Linked DNA regions of Homo sapiens: regions 1 and 2 are each linked to region 3. Evidence: promoter capture Hi-C in 16 types of primary human blood cells and fetal thymus (Javierre and others, 2016). All regions are on one chromosome and are shown on one strand. The core of a region is centred on a gene start or on the middle of the fragment in contact, and the rest is flanking DNA. Distances in the headings are between cores, read along the strand shown. Region 1 overlaps OXCT1 (3-oxoacid CoA-transferase 1). Region 2 overlaps OXCT1 (3-oxoacid CoA-transferase 1). Region 3 holds the start of HMGCS1 (3-hydroxy-3-methylglutaryl-CoA synthase 1).

What was found. The method cuts DNA at HindIII sites, captures the fragments that hold promoters and counts their contacts. A CHiCAGO score of 5 or more calls a contact.
Region 1: a contact is called between a fragment that was not itself captured here and the fragment with the promoter of HMGCS1 in region 3, in 4 of 17 cell types (total CD4 T cells, fetal thymus, monocytes and 1 more). The highest score is 8.7, in total CD4 T cells.
Region 2: a contact is called between a fragment that was not itself captured here and the fragment with the promoter of HMGCS1 in region 3, in 5 of 17 cell types (naive CD8 T cells, activated CD4 T cells, non-activated CD4 T cells and 2 more). The highest score is 7.8, in naive CD8 T cells.

Annotation. Positions count from the first base shown.
Region 1 is chr5:41,840,869-41,843,920 of GRCh38, forward strand. OXCT1 (3-oxoacid CoA-transferase 1) reads right to left here. Exons shown (of 17, transcript NM_000436.4): 6 at 1,807-1,913. Among named protein-coding and RNA genes, the nearest start is that of OXCT1-AS1, 28 kb to the right of the region's middle. The HindIII fragment of the contact is 1,846 bases long and covers 667-2,512 here.
Region 2 is chr5:41,858,087-41,861,218 of GRCh38, forward strand. The region is part of intron 3 of OXCT1 (3-oxoacid CoA-transferase 1); the gene reads right to left. Among named protein-coding and RNA genes, the nearest start is that of OXCT1-AS1, 10 kb to the right of the region's middle. The HindIII fragment of the contact is 4,650 bases long and covers 1-3,132 here.
Region 3 is chr5:43,312,071-43,315,056 of GRCh38, forward strand. It overlaps HMGCS1 (3-hydroxy-3-methylglutaryl-CoA synthase 1), which reads right to left and starts at 1,342. Exons shown (of 11, transcript NM_001098272.3): 1 at 1,286-1,342. RefSeq lists enhancers at 1,112-1,251, 1,502-1,731, 1,738-2,254, 2,255-2,769, 2,864-2,986. The HindIII fragment of the contact is 3,835 bases long and covers 1-2,058 here.

The DNA of each region.
Region 1 (3,052 bases), core at 340-2,839, 1.5 Mb before region 3:
AATATTTCATTCAACCACTTGCTTTCATTAAAATATTAAGAAAGGAAAAGTAGCAAATGCTTCACATGAGAAGGTACAGTAATTACATTCTCTATTGAAGAGAAGCCTATTGCTGAAACTAAATGAAACATTCATTGATAATTTGTGAGTCAACTATAAAGATCATTCTGGAGAATCATTTTCTGATGAAGTTTTTGGAAGTATAACACCCACATCAGACCCCGAGGTGTAAAAATTTCTAGCAGGTGCCAATTTTGCCGATGGTTTTGCACTCTGATGTTCCTCAATACAGTTCCCCTAATGGTAAAAATTAAAACATATTTTTTGTCTCTGGGAATATACGTTGATGGCAGAATTTCTTTGGTAAAAGGAAGTAAGTCACAGCTATGTTTTACTAGCTCTTTTGAGCCACCAATATTTCTTTTGCTCAGATTGAAGAATGAGTACAGGAATAGGAGCATCCTTGAGAAAGGAGCCCTCGTGAACTTTCACAAGTTGCTGGGTTAGATCCCACCAGACATCCAGGCATCAAAAGCTCCAAGGGCAGAATGGTCAGAGGCAAAGGAGTCCCAAGTCCCCCACTTGAATAACCTAGACAGACTTCTGTTCCAGCTGTCCCACTAAATATGAAGTTAATCCTAAGGTCACTTGACCATTGGTGATGCAAGCTTTCATTTCACACCCGAACTCATTAACCACCAGCATAAAGTCAGTGCCCAGAATAGCCCTTGTGCAGCCTTCAAATACCAGAGCCAGGCACTGCAGCGCAGAATAAACATGGGAATATTTTCAATAATTCCTTTCTGTTTGGTAGTATACAATTTTGTTAATCTTTTTTAAAAAGCAACTAAACGTGTAAATATTACACAAACGTGTCAAATAAGGTAAAGATGATGTAAAATTACTCCTGTTATTGCCAAAATTAGTTGTACTTTAAAAAACTGGCTAAATTAAAGAAATCAAAGAGCATTAATATCACATAAGTCCTTCAGAAATAAAAAGTGATATGAGAGTATCACTGAGAACTTAACTGTAATTGCACCAAAGCTGCATTTGCTAAAGATTTAAAAATTGTTAATCGAAAGCAGCAAATGATAAATAAGCAAAAACAATGATTTCTGTAATCTGATAGGTAAAGTCTTCAAGATCAGTTTGGAAAACTCTTAAGTGTACACTCAAAGGTTTCATATTCCTCAAAAAACAACTATATAAATCTATAAATCCAAGATATAAATACTTAGTATGCTTAGAATAACCAAAAGATTTTAAAATCTATAAAGTCTGTGGCTGAGAGGATTGAAAATTCAGTATTATAAAGGTTAATCAATTTTTCAGATAGAACCTTTGTAAGCATTTCCTAGAAGACACCAAAAGGACTGAAGGACTGACCCCAATGATTATTAGCAGTATCTTTCCAGAGTATCAAATTAGCTTTGACATTTTAAGACAATACATGTAAATTACAATATCAATTAAATAAAATTGTATGATGTCACATTTTCTAAGCATGTAACTGGTCTTGGCAACTAAAATACACAAGGAGAAAAACAACTGCATGTGCCTATATAAAAGGGCATATAGATCCAAATATTTAACAAGCAGTGCAACATAGATATCGACCAGTCTAAACAGACTCCCACAAGTGGACATACCAGCAGCCCTGCACACACCTATATATGTGCAATACACATGGGCATGTATGATTTTGGGCCATTACGAAAATACATTTTTAAATTCCAAATTCACTCTGATGTCCATTTTTAGAGTTGCTGATATGCACGAGTGTTTTTAAAACTATCACAATACCTGAAAATCACGTTTCCTGCTCGGTCCGCCTTCCAGGCTTTCACCAAAGCAAAATCCCCTGTAATTGCTTCCTCCAAAATAAAGTGCTGACCATTGAACTCCCTCACCTGCAGAAGAGGGAGAAGGCATCATCAGGTATTTGCATAGGTCTTGATTGTGATAGAGGCACTCTGATAGAGGTAGATAATAAGGATACAAGCCTACTGAGGGAAAATTTCTCAGAGGGAAAAGCATCCCAGAGACTTCAAAGATAAGCAGTGTTAGGCAAGCAGGACTTAGTCAAAGTGGTCTAAGGGGAGCTAAGGAAACAGACAAGCAAAGGTCCAGTGACAAAAGAAAATTTGTGCATTTGAGGAACTGAAAGTTCTATGGCCTGAGGGATAGACTATTTTCATTTTACTATTTGTATGTACAGGTTGTATATTGAATGTGAAAAATAGTCCTTCTTTCCCTCTCCCCTGAAAAAACAGTTTGCATAAAATGGTCTATGTATTGTTTTCCTACATAAAATAGTTACAAAAATCTATCATTCAGCTATCCTCAATAACCTATATCACCTGTTGAGATTTTAAATGGGATTCACAGAATCAGTAAATTTGGAGAAAACCAACAAGCCCTATCTTCCCACCCATGAGCATAGTATATGTCTCCATTTACTGAGGTTTTCTTCGACCTCCTTCAATAGTTTTATTATTTTCTCCATAAAAGCTTTATTTTTTTTCTTAGGTTTATTTATAGGTACTTAGTGGTTTCTCTTGCTACTGTGAATGTTACATTTGCTCCTATCTACTCTTCTGACATTACTGATCTAGGGAATGCTATTGATTTTTATTTATGTTTATTGCCTTTTAATTATACTACCAATTTTGGAGGGAAGAACATAAAGCAAAACTGTCTTGCCATCATGTTCTTTTATTCTTGACGGTTTATTTCCGGGAATTAAAACAAGCATCCATTGCCACACTCCATCACTGCACAAAATGGAGCCATGTGAATGTAGAACTCCATTCTCATCCCTACCGCACCCCCTAGTGGAAAAACAGACTAAGTGCGTTTTACAAAAAGCTGCTATAGAAAATAGAAAATTTTGGTACATTTATTTCAACTATGGTTTGAAACAAAACCTTTCTTAAATAAAGGCTACTTTAAAGACATTAACCAAGTTGCCTGCTAGAAAAAAGATTAATGCACTTAGGGAATAACTGATGAATGAGGATCTTACTATAGGAACTAAGATAAATTATAT
Region 2 (3,132 bases), core at 626-3,125, 1.5 Mb before region 3:
TCATTGTTTATATGGGCTTTGCTTTGTTTTTAGACTAGTATCCTGGCATAGCAATCAAGCAGTGCATAAGACGCTAGCCCCAGGTGCACTACCTGACCAGTTCTTCAGGTCTTGAAAATGCTGTCAGCTTACAATGAGAGTGTTTCTTGCCACATACTTTACAACCCAAATTTGGCAAGTGTATATCTTACCTATTATCAGACATTGATGATAAAAAATTAGTAAGACAAGTCCCTTACCTATAAAGGCTTACAAGATAAAGAAAAATAGATGTGATCTTTTGCAAATGGGGAACATATCATTTCTAATAGAGACATGTATATTAAACCATCTTATAGCTCTTTAATACTAAAGACAATGCTGATAAGACCTTCAAAAAGATGGGTGCTTTCCTTTAGTAGCCAACATTTTTTAGCATACTAAAGAGAGATGTGATCTTTTTCCTGCATCATAACAAACCTGGGTTTCAAACATTTTGGTGACTAGAAAAAGTCTAAGGCCAAGAATTCATTAATGAGACACATTATTATAAAGCAAAAAGATACCGCATCAGAGACAATGTTCTGGAAATATTTCCATGCTCTGAATCTGAAATTTAATTTGCTGATTTTCTGAAATCTCATTAATTGGCAATTCTTGTCAAAATAAGATAAACAAAAATAAAGTTGGGATCACTTACCAAGTTGTATTTCTTTTGTTTACTTTTCATTTTAGACATACTTAAATCTGGATTAGATAATTATATTTAATATATCAAGAGTACCAAAAACAAAATGCTTCATTTAAATATAAGGCTAATTTATGACATACAGTAATTTCCCCATCCCCCACCCAATCTGCAGTTTCATTTTCTATGTGGTTTCAATTACCCAGTCAACTGCAGTCCACAAATATTAAATGGAAAATTCCAGACATATAAAATTCATAAGTTTTAAGTTTTGCACCATTCTGAGTAACGAGATGAGCTATCATCATCCTACTCCATCCTGCCCGGGGTGTGAATCCTCCCTTTGTCCAGCACATCTACACTGTATATACTACTCTCCTGTTCTTCACTTAGTAGCCATGATGGTGATCAGATAGATTGCTGCAGTCTTTGCTGTGCTTGTGTTCAAGTAGTCCTTATCTTACTTAATAATGGCCCCAAAACACAAGAGTAGTGGTGCAGGCAACTTGGATATGCCAGAAAGAGGTCATAAAGTGCTTCCTTTAAGTGAAAGATCTAAGTAAGAATGAATCTTTTATCCATTAAATTTCAAAGAAAGAGAAAAATATCTGCTAGTTTTGCTGTCATATCTCAAACTGCAAAAGTTATAGCCACAGAGCATAATAAGAGCTTAGTTAAGATGGAAAAGACATTAAATTTGTGGGTGGAAGACAAACAGAAATACATTCCCATTGACAGCAATTGGGTTGAGTATTAGCCATGATTTCAGAACACAGGCCCCTCGAATAAGGGAGGACTTCTGTAGTTACATGAGACAAATGAAATCTTTCATGAGCTGAGCACAGAAGTTCAAGTATACATCCCAGGAATTGGTTAGCCCTTCCCAGACAAAATAACTAAATCCTAGGGAATGTCCATAATCAGCTCATGGCCTACATCTGATTATTAACTCCTTCAGAGCTGCAGCTTCCTCAACAAAGAACAAGGGCACAGCAGAGGGGTCACTGCCTTTATCTTGAGGTTCAAAGTCATTGGTACACAACCAGACATTTTAGAGTGATAGACTGACCATTGGGCTCTCAAAAAACTATTATACCTGACTAGTATAGTAATATATATATATATATATATATGTAATATATATATATATATATACACACACACACACACAAGTAATTATAGGTGTAGGTACATATGTATAATCAGATTTCTCAGCCTTTGTCATAACAGCATCTATTCTGCATCAAGAATTTTATATTGATCTGTAGTATCCCTTATAAGCATAAAGCTATCTGGAAAACTGAAAGTGCTGATAATCAAAAGTATGTATAATCAAGTCAAATTAAAGGGCATAAGATATGTTTAAGAGTTATCGAGTTGTCTTAAACAAGTTACTTCTCTATTTTCAGACGATCTGAAAAGTCAGTTAAACAAGGGACAGATGATTTCTACAATCCCATTCCCCTCCAACACACAGTAACTCTGAGACTCAGACTTACAGGCTCAGGACAGTAGGGAATACATAACTACTGTAAATAAAGGAGATTGGTAATGTAATATACATATATATCAAAGATAAGTAAAATTCAGCACACAAAGAAAGGCTAAAAGTCTCTAAAGGAACTCAAAAAGGGGCAAGATCAATAAAGACTAGAAAAGTTTCTATAATTGGATAAGGATACTTTGAGGATATACAACTTAAGTCTAATCCTGAGAGATGTGGATAGACAGGAAAGAGGAGGGACAGTCTCCCAGAAGGAAACAGACTCAGAAAAGGAAAAATGGGCACAAAAAAGTAGCATCAGTTTTACTTCCCAAATAACCTACACTATTTATTCTAAACTGCTTTTATAATTGGCTAAAATGCCAATTGGGTGATTAAAAATGTAAAATCCTTAAAGTCTTTAATTGTTGAGAGCTGATGACTTACCATTTTGTAAAAATAAAAATATGGCTTTTCCTAACATAGCTAAATGTACCTTAATGTGCATGCTATTATTAAAATGATGGCTTATTTCTGACCACTATAATATGCAATCCTATTATCTTAAGTGCTGGCTGCATATCCACCTTCCAAGACCAGCCATGTTTTTGTGATTAATGGTATCCCTTTATTTATGATCTAGAATGATGGCATTGCTAAAAGAAAGGGCTTTAAACAGATTTCAAATTGATGCCCACCTTGCTTTATAAATGATCTAATAAATAACATAAAACAATACATTTAAATTTTAAAATGCAAGACTTAATTTGAAGATATATATTCTAACTTCAATACATTTTAAGTTTAGAAAAATAAAAGCACATCACATTAAGATATAAAGTCTTAATTTATATCTTTATACTAGATGAAGCAAGTCTGCTTTACTTATGAAGGATGGTACCAAAAACATTTGGATAAATGTAACCACCCCTCTTGACCTTGTTAAACACTAGATTTTGATGCTTGGACATATTGCTCATGT
Region 3 (2,986 bases), core at 92-2,591:
GTGTCTCAAGTGCAAAGAACTACTGACACGGATAATGTTAACGACTTTCAACTGCCTCTCATCTAATAGTATCTGTGCAATAAAGTCCAAAACACATCTCAGAAGGAAAAATCTGTTAACTCTAGGAGCACTTCCATTTGTCTTAATTTTGTTGTTTATCTTGTCATTGTTTTTCATATTCATGCCTAAAACAGAGCAAATGTTAGTTAGCAGCAACCAGAACACATCATCCTACTGCAGCAGGTGGCAAGAGCATCCTCGGGAAGGTGGGGAGCTGCAGCAGAGGTGAGCAGTGAAAGCAGCTACTGATGCCTTAAGGCTAAGGCCATAGGGACAAGCATGACAAACAGGCACAACCTCACATTATTTGTTCCCCAAATCCCTCCTCCAGAGTGGATCAGAATAATCGTTTCTCTACCACTGGTCAAGGCCAGACGTGGGTTTTCAAAGACTCCATATACTTGCTTTGAAATATCCTTAGCTTAATCCAAAACCTATTTGTGGGAGGACTCTGTGAGTGCCTGCCCATTACACTGTATCACCTAAAGCTGGTCCCGAAGGTATTAGTAGGAGAGAGATGTGGGATTTCAGAACACCAAGGAAGCCTATTTTTTAAAACGTAGACAAAAAAAAATATGGAGGCAGGAAGGCGGGAGGCAGTGATCTATGAGATTTGAAGCAAGTACAGACTGAGCCCCAGTACTTAGCCAGGTCTAAATCACGGTTGTGAACGCTTTCTTGCACCTGAGCTGAGGAAGAAAAGTAATGCTACCCACTTCCCTTCTTTCCATCAACTCTATATGTGGCAGCAGGACACACCCCCTGCGAACCTACCAGCCTCCGTCTAAAGAGGATCTTGCCCATCCTTTGGCGTCCACCCTTAACCAACGCTCTGGAAACGCCTTGGTAGCCCAACTGTCTTCTCTCCCCCTCCTGACACCCCCCACTCACCTCTAGGCGGTCACAGCTGCCTCTCTGGCACCTCCAACTCCTCTGTCGTTAGAATACCTAGACCTCAACGCCCTCTCGCGTTCTCCCCTCCGCGACTCGCCTGTGTTCTCGGATCTTCTCAGATCCGCTACGGTCGGCCTCAGGTCCCTCACGAGGGAACCCCCGCCCGGCCCCGCTCACGGTGCCCCATCCTCCCGGGCAAAGTCCACGCCTACGTCCTGACCCAGAGCCCCAGCTCCTTCGGGCCTAGTCAAGGACACCGCCTCTGTCTGGCCCACACCCCGCCCGCGGCACCTCCGCAGCCCAGTTCTACTCCCCAGCGCGGGACACTCACCAAGCGTGACCGAGCGGCAGCAGAGGAAAGGGAGTGAGCCACGAAAGGACAGTCCGCGGCGCCTCCCCTTCGCCACCAGCTTTATAGCCGCCAACCCACCCGACTCCGGCACCGCCGAGAGTCGCTGGGAGGCGGGACGGTGGCTCCCACAGCCAATCGCGGCCGGTAGAGTTGCCCGGCAGCGCCCGCCCCCCAGTCCGGCTTCTACCAATCAAAAGGAAACTAGAGGCGATGACTCGCTAGGATTTTCCCTCGTGGCTGGAAGGGCGGGGAGAAGAGGCGGGGACAAAGTCTCAGGGCCGAGGAAGTGGTGTGAGAGACTGACGTGAGGTGGCACGAGAGCCCAGTTGCCAATGACGGAGCTGCGAGATACGGCGAGAGCCAACGGGAGCGGAGTGAGAGGTTCTCCGACCAATTGGGACTAAGTGAGAGGAGATGCGGGCCAATGGGTACTCCGCGTCCCACCGCTGGAGAGATGGTCAAATGTGGGAGGCGAGGTGGTCCCAGCTTGGGAGTCTGTCAGGTTGCCTAGCAACCAGAACTAGGCTTCACCTGAAAGATTTCTGAAATACTGTACTTGATTTGAATTCAGTCTTAACGTTTTCTAGCAAAGTGTGCGTAGATTGCAAATTGGAGCAGAATACTTCACCCAGAACTTGTATATGTGTAAATAGTCTAAATACCCGATTTGTAAATACTCAAATATTGTCTCCTTTATTCAAAACTACCTTGACTTAAAGAAAACAGAACAAACAAAAGTGCTCTTGAGACAAAGCTTTCTAACTAAACCTAAAACAAAATGGTTTCAGGATTAGGCATCCGTGGGGAGGGTGCAGAGCCTTGCCTGTGAAGGGAAGTTGATACTGAATTCAAGGATTTTTGCCAGGCCATGCACTCTGAGGAAAGGGACTCCATTTGGCCTGTTGCCCACTGTATCTTCTAAGCTTCATATGTGGTACCTGCCAAGTAAAAGGCTGTGGAAAGGCCACGTAATTGTCGGCATAGTAAATCCATCGGATACGGACTGCCTAACTCCCCCAGCAAATAGAGAGGAGCAATTCAAGCTAGAGGAATTCACTGAAACACTATTTGGGGGAATCCAAAGGAGGACACTTGTGGCTTTGCAATAAACTCTGCCTCTATCTGGTCAGAGAGAGAAGCCATAATACTTAGCTTTGGTGGGGGACCATGAGTGAGGTTCGGAGTTGTTTGTATCTCTCCCCATCTCAATTTAATTAACAGGAATGCTATTGATAAGGGGTCATTGGTAATTCTGTGATTCACACAATTATTGTTATGGGAGATTCTTTTAACCACTATAGATGCTAACCTAGTAAGACACATTCTCAGCAGCAAAGTGGCAAAATATATTGGAAATGGAACCACTGTGAAGTGGTGGCATAAATGACTTGGGGGAAGAGGACCACTCAGTAATGATTTCCATTCCACAGTATTGCCCATGACTCACTTCATATGTATGTAAAGTAACTAGATAGTAAACAGAGAGAGAGACATTGCCTGATTATGATCAACAGCAATTTGGGGTGGGGTAGGAGATTAAAATTCTTGGCATATTGGAATATGCTGAAAGGCAGTAAGGACAAACACAAGAAAGAAGATACAGTTTTGTCGTTAGGAATCGCAAATAATTCCAACTCCAGGAGTACATAATGGGAAATGATTAGCCAGACGGTCATGAGA